Linked DNA regions of Homo sapiens: all the other regions are linked to region 1. Evidence: promoter capture Hi-C in 16 types of primary human blood cells and fetal thymus (Javierre and others, 2016). All regions are on one chromosome and are shown on one strand. Each heading gives the region's core, a stretch centred on a gene start or on the middle of the fragment in contact. The rest is flanking DNA. Distances are from core to core; before and after follow the strand shown.

Evidence for each region. Contacts are between HindIII fragments. The CHiCAGO score rates a contact against its expected background, and 5 or more counts as called.
Region 2: a contact is called between the fragment with the promoter of HCRTR1 here and the fragment with the promoter of KHDRBS1 in region 1, in 2 of 17 cell types (total CD4 T cells and total B cells). The highest score is 5.8, in total CD4 T cells.
Region 3: a fragment that was not itself captured here is called in contact with the fragment with the promoter of KHDRBS1 in region 1 in 2 of 17 cell types (naive CD4 T cells and non-activated CD4 T cells); the score reaches 5.7 in naive CD4 T cells.

The regions. Positions count from the first base shown.
Region 1 is chr1:32,012,375-32,015,614 of GRCh38, reverse strand. KHDRBS1 (KH RNA binding domain containing, signal transduction associated 1) reads right to left here and starts at 1,747. Exons shown (of 9, transcript NM_006559.3): 1 at 1,238-1,747. The coding sequence starts at 1,619. RefSeq lists silencers at 739-848, 1,329-1,538 and an enhancer at 942-1,512. The HindIII fragment of the contact is 9,365 bases long and covers 1-3,240 here.
Region 2 is chr1:31,615,699-31,618,938 of GRCh38, reverse strand. HCRTR1 (hypocretin receptor 1) reads right to left here and starts at 1,250. Exons shown (of 9, transcript NM_001525.3): 1 at 1,058-1,250; 2 at 123-183. RefSeq lists an enhancer at 645-1,334. The HindIII fragment of the contact is 12,367 bases long and covers 1-1,416 here.
Region 3 is chr1:32,375,707-32,378,946 of GRCh38, reverse strand. It overlaps BSDC1 (BSD domain containing 1), which reads left to right. Exons shown (of 11, transcript NM_018045.8): 6 at 108-223; 7 at 664-732; 8 at 899-977; 9 at 2,206-2,685. Among named protein-coding and RNA genes, the nearest start is that of TSSK3, 15 kb to the right of the region's middle. The HindIII fragment of the contact is 3,585 bases long and covers 10-3,240 here.

The DNA of each region.
Region 1 (3,240 bases), core at 498-2,997:
GTGAGGGGAGACTGAAAATTAAAAGTAACTTTTAAGGATCAACAGTTTTTGACAGTTATCTTAAGAAAGCATAAAAGATGAACACCACACTGGTAAAGATCCCTTACCTTACAGTGTTGGGAGACAGAGAACAAAGGGAGGGAGATAATATTTTCATAATGAACTGTCCATTATATTAACCTTGCCAAAGAGTCCAACTACTCATTCAGTGTTGAAGGATGTGAATTTTTACTTGCTTAGTAAAATTTAGGTATCATAAAAAATATTAAAATAATATTTTAACTAGAAGCGAAAGTCAGACAGCTTTAGGGAAAAATCAGAGCGACTAGGTGATTGGCCAGTGCTGATGAGGAAAAGAGCGCTAACCTACAGAACAAAGACTCTCATTTCTAATCTATTTCACTACTGAATCAAAAATGTAAAAAACAGCAACAAAAAGGCCAAGCCTTTCAGTACAAGCATCATGCAACTTCTCTCAATTTCTGTCCATCTCGTTGGGAAACGTCATGTGAACTACGCGGGAGTCCCTATCGTCCCATTTCACTGTCTCTAGGGTTACTTCACTCCTTCAACGACAGTGAACACACGGTGTAAAATGGCTCAGTAGCAATTCTTATTTTATCAGCCTTAGTCGGAAATCTGATTCGGAAACCTCAAGCTCCGATCCACATAAATCGCTCCTTCCTCCCAGCAACTTAAGCTGCGGTTACCGCTAAGTCCGGCTCGGCCCCAGCGACAGCAAGGCACTGGACAGGGCATTCCAGCCTCACCCCACCTCACCTCGGCCCTTCCTCCCACGGTCCCTCCCCGCTCTGGCTGTCTTCACCTCCTACACCTCGGTCGAGGCGCTCATCGCCACCCGCGATCAAAAAGGGTTTCCCTTCAGGGAAAGGGGGAAATGAAGGTTCATTTCTGGAAGAATCTGCGCGCCCGGCAGCCGCAAGAGGAGGGAGGAGGGAAGAGTCGGGAAAGGGGCGGGGAGCTCAGCACTATCCATCAAGACATTAGCGCTAGGGGATCGCAAAGTCGCCTTCGGGCCTCCACTGCAGCCTAGAAATTCTCCCACGCACTCCGGGCTGAGGTGGGAATGTGGAATCCAGGCTCCCAAAAATGAGGATGAGACCGGAACTCCCGACTGCCTCGGTCCCGAGGGGGCGGGAAGCGAGAGGAACAAAGCCAGGGCCACTCATGCCCGGGATGGCCGGGCGACCCAGAGGGACACGGGAGGCCCCCTTACCTGCCGTCAGCAGCTGCATGGCGTGAGTGAAGGACGGGTCGAGCGAGTCCTTCTCGGCCATGAGTTCGGGCAGGTACTTGTTCTCTGGCTCCATCTTGACCGAGGCTGTGGCCGAGGGGGGCAGCAGCGGGGTCGGCGCTGGCCCGCCCACTGTCGCGTCGGGACCCGTGGCCGAGGGCGGCAGCAGCGGTGGCGGCTGCGTGGCGGGCGAGGCCCGGGCGCCCCCGCGGGATCCCCCTCCGCCTCCCCGGGACCGGTGAGGCAGCGGCGGCTGCCGAGACGGCGTCTGACGCACCGAGGGGTGGGCACCGGAGGGGTCCATGGAGCCGCTACGGCCCGAAGACCGGCTCATGCGCGCGGCGGGGTCGTCCCGGCGCTGCATCTGGGAGGATGTGCGATCCAAGGAGCGAGAAAGCGACGCGGCAGCGACGGAGGCCCGAGCGGCGGTTGGCGGGGGTGGCAGAGCGGGAGCGGTAGCGACCGAAGCCGACCCGAGCGACCCAGCGAGAGAGAGCACCGGAAATGAGGCGGCGCGCGTGCGCAGCCAGCCACCGGCACCGCCCTTGGGTTTCTCCGCGGAGAACAAAGTCCCCAGTCCGGCCACGGCGCCTGCGCACCGCCGCGGCGTCCGAGAAGTCGCCTCCCGACTCTGGCTTTCCCTCCGCTCCCGCCAGGCCAGAGCTTGATGCGCATGCGCGGGAGGCAGTGGGCTCCGTTCGTTTCGTTTTCCACGTGACTCGGCGCTAGCGGAACACGTGTCTCCTCCCCTTTCTGGCGTGGAGGGGGCGGGAGCTGTGGAATGTCTTTGTCTGCGCGCGGGCCCGCGGAGTGTGGGGCGGGAGACCTGTTACTCGCGGGGCCACGCCCTCTCCAACGGCTGAGCAGTGGAGGGAGGCTGTGGGGAGTGGGGTGGGGGGCGGTCACCGAAGTAAGGAAGTAAAAGACTGCCGAGAGGGTCACGGAAAGGGGAGGGAGAGAGAATTGAGACCGCCTGGGGAGGAAGACAGGAGTGAGACAGACTGCACAGGGAGAAAGGAAGGCTGAGGGAGAGTCTGATGCAGGGGGAAAGTTGGGGAAGGGAAACCTGGAGGGAGAAATTGAGGAAGGACGGCTTGGTGGAAACACTGAAGGCGATTGGAGTACTTGAACTAAGAGGGATGGTTCAGATCAGAGATCTGAAGTCTAGCAAAGAAAAGGGTCCCAGACATCAGGGAACACAAGAAGTTGTTTCCAGTATATATATTTCCAGTATTACATATATTCCAGTCGGTTCTAAAACGGTTGACATTGTTGGTACGGGAAATCTTAAGCAGCATTTTAGCTCTTTTTACATATTTTACTGCTTTTTCTGAATTGTGTTTGTTTTGTTTCGCCGTCATTATTGCCAATTAAGTGTTTCTTCCTTCAAAAAGTGAGGTAGAGACCAGATCCTTAATCCACGTTGGTTGCATCATTAGGATGGCTTCTTCTACCACTCCAGACTTGCTCAAAGAGACCCTTGCCACTACTCTCAAAGGCAAGGTACATAGTGGACAGTCGCCTACGACGTTCTCCACATCCTGGTGTGCTATATGCAAGTGGAGCCTTAGGTCCCTACTTGTCCCATAAGCCATCAAAAGCCTGGTGCCCTCTCTAACTTTCCCTTCCCTCCGCAGATTATTTTCTTCTTCCATTTAAAGCACTCACTCCCATCTCTTTTCCTTCTGGATTAGTTCTCCTAATGAGCCCACACTTTTCAAAAGTCTTTGGGGACCGGTGCGGTGGCTTATGCCTGTAATCCCAGCACTTTGGGAGGCCTAGGTGGGAGGATTACTTGAGGCTAGGAGTTCGAGAGCAGCCTGGACAATATAATGAGACCTCATCTCTACAATAAAAAAAGTTTCCGCCCGGCTTGGTGGCTCATGCCTGTGATCCCAACACTTTGGGAGGCCGAGGTGGGCAAATCACCTGAGGCCAGGAGTTCGAGACCAACTTGGCCAACATGATGAAACCCCATCTTTACT
Region 2 (3,240 bases), core at 1-2,500, 400 kb after region 1:
TTGGTGGAGGAAGACAGACCTGGGTTGCATCCCAATTCCACACCAGTTGCCTTGGGTAGCTTACCTGGCCTCTTTCAGCCTTGGTTTCCCCATCTGTCTAATGGGGTGACAGCCCTACATACCTTACAGGACCACGATGAGGAGTAATGAGCTCCGATGCGTGCCAAGTGCTTCACCAAGAACCTGGTACGAGAAGGTAGTTTCGGGGACGTTTCCGGTTACCATTATTAGGGTACCCTGCTTTGCAGATGAGACCGAAGCTCAGAGAGATTGAGTCTCTTGCTCAAGGTCACAAAGCTCTTAAGCCAGGTCTGTTCGAACCCACCAAACACCGTAGATTTGGGAGGAGAAGCCATCCCGATTGCAAATATTTCTTGAGCCAGTTCAGAGGCTTTAACTTTGGGTTGGGAAAACGGGCCAAGGGAGGTGTTAGAGACCCAAGCCCCACCCGCCATACCTGCCAGACCCTCCGGTGGGCACTCGCGGACACGCACACATACAACACACACACAGTGGGGGTGGTGCGCGGAGGGACTGACGACCCCTTGCGAGCAAGGGGAGCATCCAGGCCCCCTAAGAGGCCCCTTTGGGTCCCCAGGGCCGCGACGCTCCCCGACGGCCGCCAGGAGCCGCTGTTCCGGCGCGCGGGTCGCTCTCCATTCATAAATCCAGCCAGCCCAGCTCCCCGCCCCTCCCCTCCTCCCGCACTCAGCCCCTCCTTCCCCCGGCTGGGCTAGGACGACCCCGGCCAGGTGCCGGAGGGTTGCGGATCCCTGGAGACCCCTGGGGAAGGGGAGGGGACGCCTTCATACCCCACTGAACGCCGGCAGGCCCGCTCCGTCCGCGGGACCTTCCTGCACCTCGGGGGCTGGCGGGGCTCCGGGAAGGCGCGGGGGAGCGAGGGCACTCGGAGCCTGCCTAGAGGAGAGCAGCGCTGGCCGAGGAGCCAGTCTCCCAGCACCCAGGTTACCCCCCGAGACTCTTGGCTCCTCCCATCCCTCGCCGCGGGTCCTTTGGAACCCCCATCCCAGGCCTGGGGGTCCCCCACACCCCGCACCTGTTGGCTCCGGGACCCGGGCGTTCTCGGCTGCTGGTCCCCGGACCTGGCACCGGGGACTTCGCCTTCCTGCGAGGAAGGCCGAGCCTCTAGGGGCCGGGACTGCAGGAGGGGGCCGGGGCAGCCCCCTCCCTAGGCTGCGCTGCCTCGGCTCGCGGGGCTCAGCACGATCCGCGGCAACTGCGCGGGCTGTGGCTCGGCGCGGGCTCCGCCGGGCTGCGCGCTGCGGGGAGGGAGGGCCGGCGGGAGGGGCAGGGCGGGGTGGGAGCCCCCAGACGGTCTTGGCTCCCTGTCTTCCAGCCCCGAGACCCGCAGGGCGGAGGGAGACGCTCGTTCCTTCTAGCCTCCCACTTCAAGCTTCCATCCCACCTCCATTCATGCGTCCATCCGTTCATTCATTCCATCCTCATTCATTCAACATTTATGCCCCTGGCCACCCCGCATTCTGGGCGCACTTAGTGTGTGCCGGCGGGCCTGGCAGCTTCAGAGGGCCACAGTGCAGAGGTGGAGCCCAGCCCCGCCTCTCCTTGCTGCCTCACCTAACTGAGGAGGAGGATGGCACAGGTGGGTCACAGGGGTGAGACAGAGAGGATGCCTGCACCGCCTCCAGCCTAGCTCCGGATGCTGCTGTAACAGCTAGCTCCCAACGATGCCAGAGAAGCCTGTTCTCCCATCTCCCAGCCCCCCATCCTATCTGCCCCCAGTTTCTCTTTTTGTTATACCTACTGTTCCCCCCAAAAATCAAGGACGCCGGTGGGGACAGAAGTGGGGGTTCGTTAATTCCACAAATAACGATTTATTAAGCTGTGTGCTAGGCAGTGAGTTCTAATAATACAGCTACCGTTTGGATAATGCATATGATGCCTGCTCTCATTTAATCTTCATATCAACCTGGTGAGGTGGTCGTTATTGTCCCCATTTTACAGATAAGGACACTGGATCCACATGGCGCAATGACTTGCCCAAGGTCGCACAGCAGAGGCAGAGCTGGGCTTTGAGCCTCTGCCCCTCTCAGGCCTCTAGCCTCTCTCACCAGACACAGTCTCCCTCCCCTGCAAAATCTCTCTGGCTGGTGGGGGAGGCAGGTGCACACCCAGGCAATTAACCTGTGGTGTGAGGAGGGTGTGAGGGCCCTGGGGGCTGTGGGGCACAGGAGGACAGACCGACTCAGCCAGGGCATGAGAACAGGCTTCCTGGAGCAGGGACATCTCCATGGAGACCTGAAGAATAAGAAGGTAGCCTGCAAGGGGGATTGTGGTATTCGAGGAGAGGCATTCAAGGTCAGGAAACAGCAGGTGCAAAGGTTTGAAGGTTGGGGATTCTGGAAATCACAGGTAGGTGAAGGGTGACTGCCTGAGCATCATGCAGTCACCTTGGCCATCCCCTAGCTCAGCATAGGACATTCCTAACATGTCACCCTCTGAAACTCACACTGTTTCCCTCCTGGGAGGTGACTCCTGGGATGCAACCACCATCTTTCCCATTGCAGCCAAAGCCCTTTTCAAAGGCTCTGAAGATGCGCCGTTAGGCATAGGAGGTGTGGGAGAGGAACTGGAGCAGCATAAGGGAGGGGGCCAGTGACCTTAACCTCTGCAGAACAGGAGGATGGACTGAAGCTAAACCCAAGGCAGAACTTTGTCCTTGGGCAGGTATGGCATCTGCATGGTGTGTGATGTCTTGTCTTCCCTAGGTGCTGGCCGAGGTAGGAGAATGAGTGAAGGGACTCAGAAGAGGGGCTGCTGTGTGTGTGTGTGTGTGTGTGCGTGTGTGCATGTGTGAATGTGTGGGTGTGTGCATGTCTGCATATGTGTGCATGAGTGTGTGTTTGTGTTTGAGTCTTGAATTCAAGTAAGGGCTGTGGTGTGTGTCTAGGGAATCCAGTGTGTTTGAGTCTGACTGTGCATATGAGCAGGGGGTGGGCTCTGGGTTGATGACTGGAGGTCACTCTGGGTGGGATGTGTCTGTCTGGGTCTTGATCTGTCCCTGTGTTTTGGCGTTTGTGTCTATGGGGAATGTGTATGTGTGAGGAGATGACTGTTTCTCAGTGTGGATCTGAATGTTCAACTGTGGCTTTGACTAGCACTGGCCTCCCAGCGTGTTTCCCTGTGAGTGTGGGAATGTGAGTGTGGCCATGCCTTTGTGTGTAAGGTTCTGTGAGTGTGCATATGTGGAACTTGGTACAT
Region 3 (3,240 bases), core at 553-3,052, 360 kb before region 1:
ACACAAGCTTTCTTCATTTTCCATGTCCAGCCTTAGATATGTTCTGTAAGCCCAGTGTTCTTTTCCCAGACCAAGGCAACTGACCGTCAGCATCTGTCCCTCTGCAGGGCCCCCGGAATTGTTTGACGCCTGGCTTTCCCAGTTCTGCTTGGAGGAGAAGAAGGGGGAGATCTCAGAGCTCCTTGTAGGCAGCCCCTCCATCCGGGCCCTCTACACCAAGATGGTGAGGGCCCAGCCTGCAGGGCCTCAGCCAGCTCCAGGCTTGAGGTGTTGGGAGGTGGGAGGGACATGTTCAGAGTCACTGCAGAGTCATCTGGCCCGGAGAGCACTGGGAGGCTCCATAGAGCCAGACCAGCTGTGTCCTGAGCCAAGACCCCACATGGGAGAAGCTGGTTTGCCAGGCTTCTGGCAATCAGAGAATGGTGAGAAATGGAAGGGCCAGCAAAGCCTGATGGGAGTTCTTTTCTCACTCCTTGGCCAACCCGGACTAGGAAGGTGGGTCTGGCTGAAACTTTGGTGGGGGTGGAAGTGCTCTGACTGTCACTGCTAAGCCACTTACTGGGTCTGAAATCCAGACTGGCTGGGAATAGACTGATAAGGCTGGGGACACAGACCCCACACAAACACTCCCAAAGTCTCACCTCCATTTTCCCCTCCCTCCAGGTTCCAGCAGCTGTTTCCCATTCAGAATTCTGGCATCGGTATTTCTATAAAGTCCATCAGTTAGAGCAGGTATGCTGGTCTAGCATGGGGAGGTCCCCACTCAACCCTGGGGGAAGCAGGCTGGATTTATTGAGAGAAGAAAGGGATACAGGGTGCCAAGAGTTGTGGGATCAGGACCAGGGTCTAGGAAGAGGGTGCCCTGACTGCCTGTGGCCTTCTGCTCCCCCACATTCAGGAGCAGGCCCGGAGGGACGCCCTGAAGCAGCGGGCGGAACAGAGCATCTCTGAAGAGCCCGGCTGGGAGGAGGAGGAAGGTAAGAGGCGTTGAGAGGTGAGGGGCAAGTGTCACATCTGTGCGGGACGCTCTGGGCTGGGCCATGCTCTCTGAAGCCTGGAGAGACTTGGTGCCCATCAGGGAAGAGTAGGGAACAAGCACATTGTATGTGTGAGGATAGGCGGAGCTAACAAGGGGATATTGAACAAGGCTAGTGGAATTCCGATTTAGCTACAGAAATCACATGTGTCAGTTGGTGTAGATTCCCCTGCCAGCCCATGAACCAGCTGCCGCTTAGTCACTGGGGAGCTTCTTGAAAATCCAGATTCCTTTCCCCACCTTCTAAAGAAGACTGTAAAGATGCGGCCAGACATGTATTTTAAACAAGTTCCCTGGTAATATTAATGCCCAGGCTGGTTTGGGAACCACTGAGTTAGGGAGGGAGCTGAGCATCTTCTACCTGTAGCTCAGCTTAGAACAGCATGTTGAAGCCTTCTGGATGATATAATATTAACGCATTTCTTGTTTACACCATATGTCCAGGCTGCCCTAAGAGCTCTACACAGAGTCCTTACCACAACCCCATTACCCCTCTTAAGGATAAAAGTAAGTTAAGAGTAAGTTAAAAGTTAGGTGGCTTGCCCAATCATACACCTAGGATGTAGCAGAGTCCAACCTGAACCCAAAACTGACTCACTTCTGAGCCTTGGCTTTCTAATCCATAACAGCCCCTTGGACTGCATTGCTGGAAGCCCACCAGGCATTAGGCCCCAGGGCTAAACAGGACTTTGACTAGCAGGGACTGTCTGCAGAAGCGTTGTGATGGCGAAGGGGTGAGCTGAATGACACTATTGAGTCTTTTTTTTTTCGTTTTGAGGCAGAGTCTCACTCTGTCATCCAGGCTGGAGTGCAGTGGCGCAATCTCCGCCCACTGCAACCACCGCCTCCCGGGTTCAAGCGATTCTCCTGCCTCAGCCTCCCAAGTAGCTGGGATTACAGGCACGTGCCACCACACCCAGCTAATATTTTTTGTATTTTTAGTAGAGATGGGGTTTCACCGTGTTGGCCAGGCTGGTCTCAAAAACTCCTGACCTCAGGTGATCCACCCGCCTCATCCTCCCAAAGTGGTGGGATTACAGGTGTGAGCCACCATGCCCGGCTTGAGTCTTGATCAGAGTACACTTTGGCAGGAACTTGAGAGCTCCAAGGTTGTCTTATGGCTGGCCAGGTTACATTTCCCTCTTGCCCCTCCCTTTCTCTCTCTACAGAGGAGCTCATGGGCATTTCACCCATATCTCCAAAAGAGGCAAAGGTTCCTGTGGCCAAAATTTCTACATTCCCTGAAGGAGAACCTGGCCCCCAGAGCCCCTGTGAAGAGAATCTGGTGACTTCAGTTGAGCCCCCAGCAGAGGTGACTCCATCAGAGAGCAGTGAGAGCATCTCCCTCGTGACACAGATCGCCAACCCGGCCACTGCACCTGAGGCACGAGTGCTACCCAAGGACCTGTCCCAAAAGCTGCTAGAGGCATCCTTGGAGGAACAGGGCCTGGCTGTGGATGTGGGTGAGACTGGACCCTCACCCCCTATTCACTCCAAGCCCCTAACGCCTGCTGGCCACACCGGCGGCCCAGAGCCCAGGCCTCCAGCCAGAGTAGAGACTCTGAGGGAGGAGGCGCCCACAGACTTACGGGTGTTTGAGCTGAACTCGGATAGTGGGAAGTCTACACCCTCCAACAATGGAAAGAAAGGTAGGTCTGGAGGTCCAAGCCCAGAGGGTTGTGTGCGGTCAGGGCCACCTCCTGAGGCAGATTTGTCTCCTTGTCCCTTGTTAGGATACTATGAGCAGATTTTTTTTCGTTTCTGATAATGATGACAGCTGCTATATATTGACTATTTGCTAACATATTTCATTCTAAGTTGCACAACATCTCTGAAATAAGAATGCATCTTCAATTGTTGGCATCTTAAGAGTCAACAAAACAAGTTTGATGCCAGATCCCATGCTAAATATGTTATATGGCACCTAATTTCTCAGTATTATTGTCCTCATTTTACAAATGAAAAAAAGTGAGGCCCAAAAATATTAGGTAACTTGCCCAAGTTCACATGGCCAGGAGGCCCAGATTCAGACCCAGGGCTGTCTGACTCCAAGCCCATGCCCTTAACTAGCACACTGTGCCAATTTCTATCTTTTTGGACAATTTAACCTTACCCTGGCTTGGGAATCCCAGTGACATTGATGTTAAGGGTCTTCTTCCTGTGTAACCTTAGGAAAGTCATTCAGCTTCCCCAAGCCTTCGTTA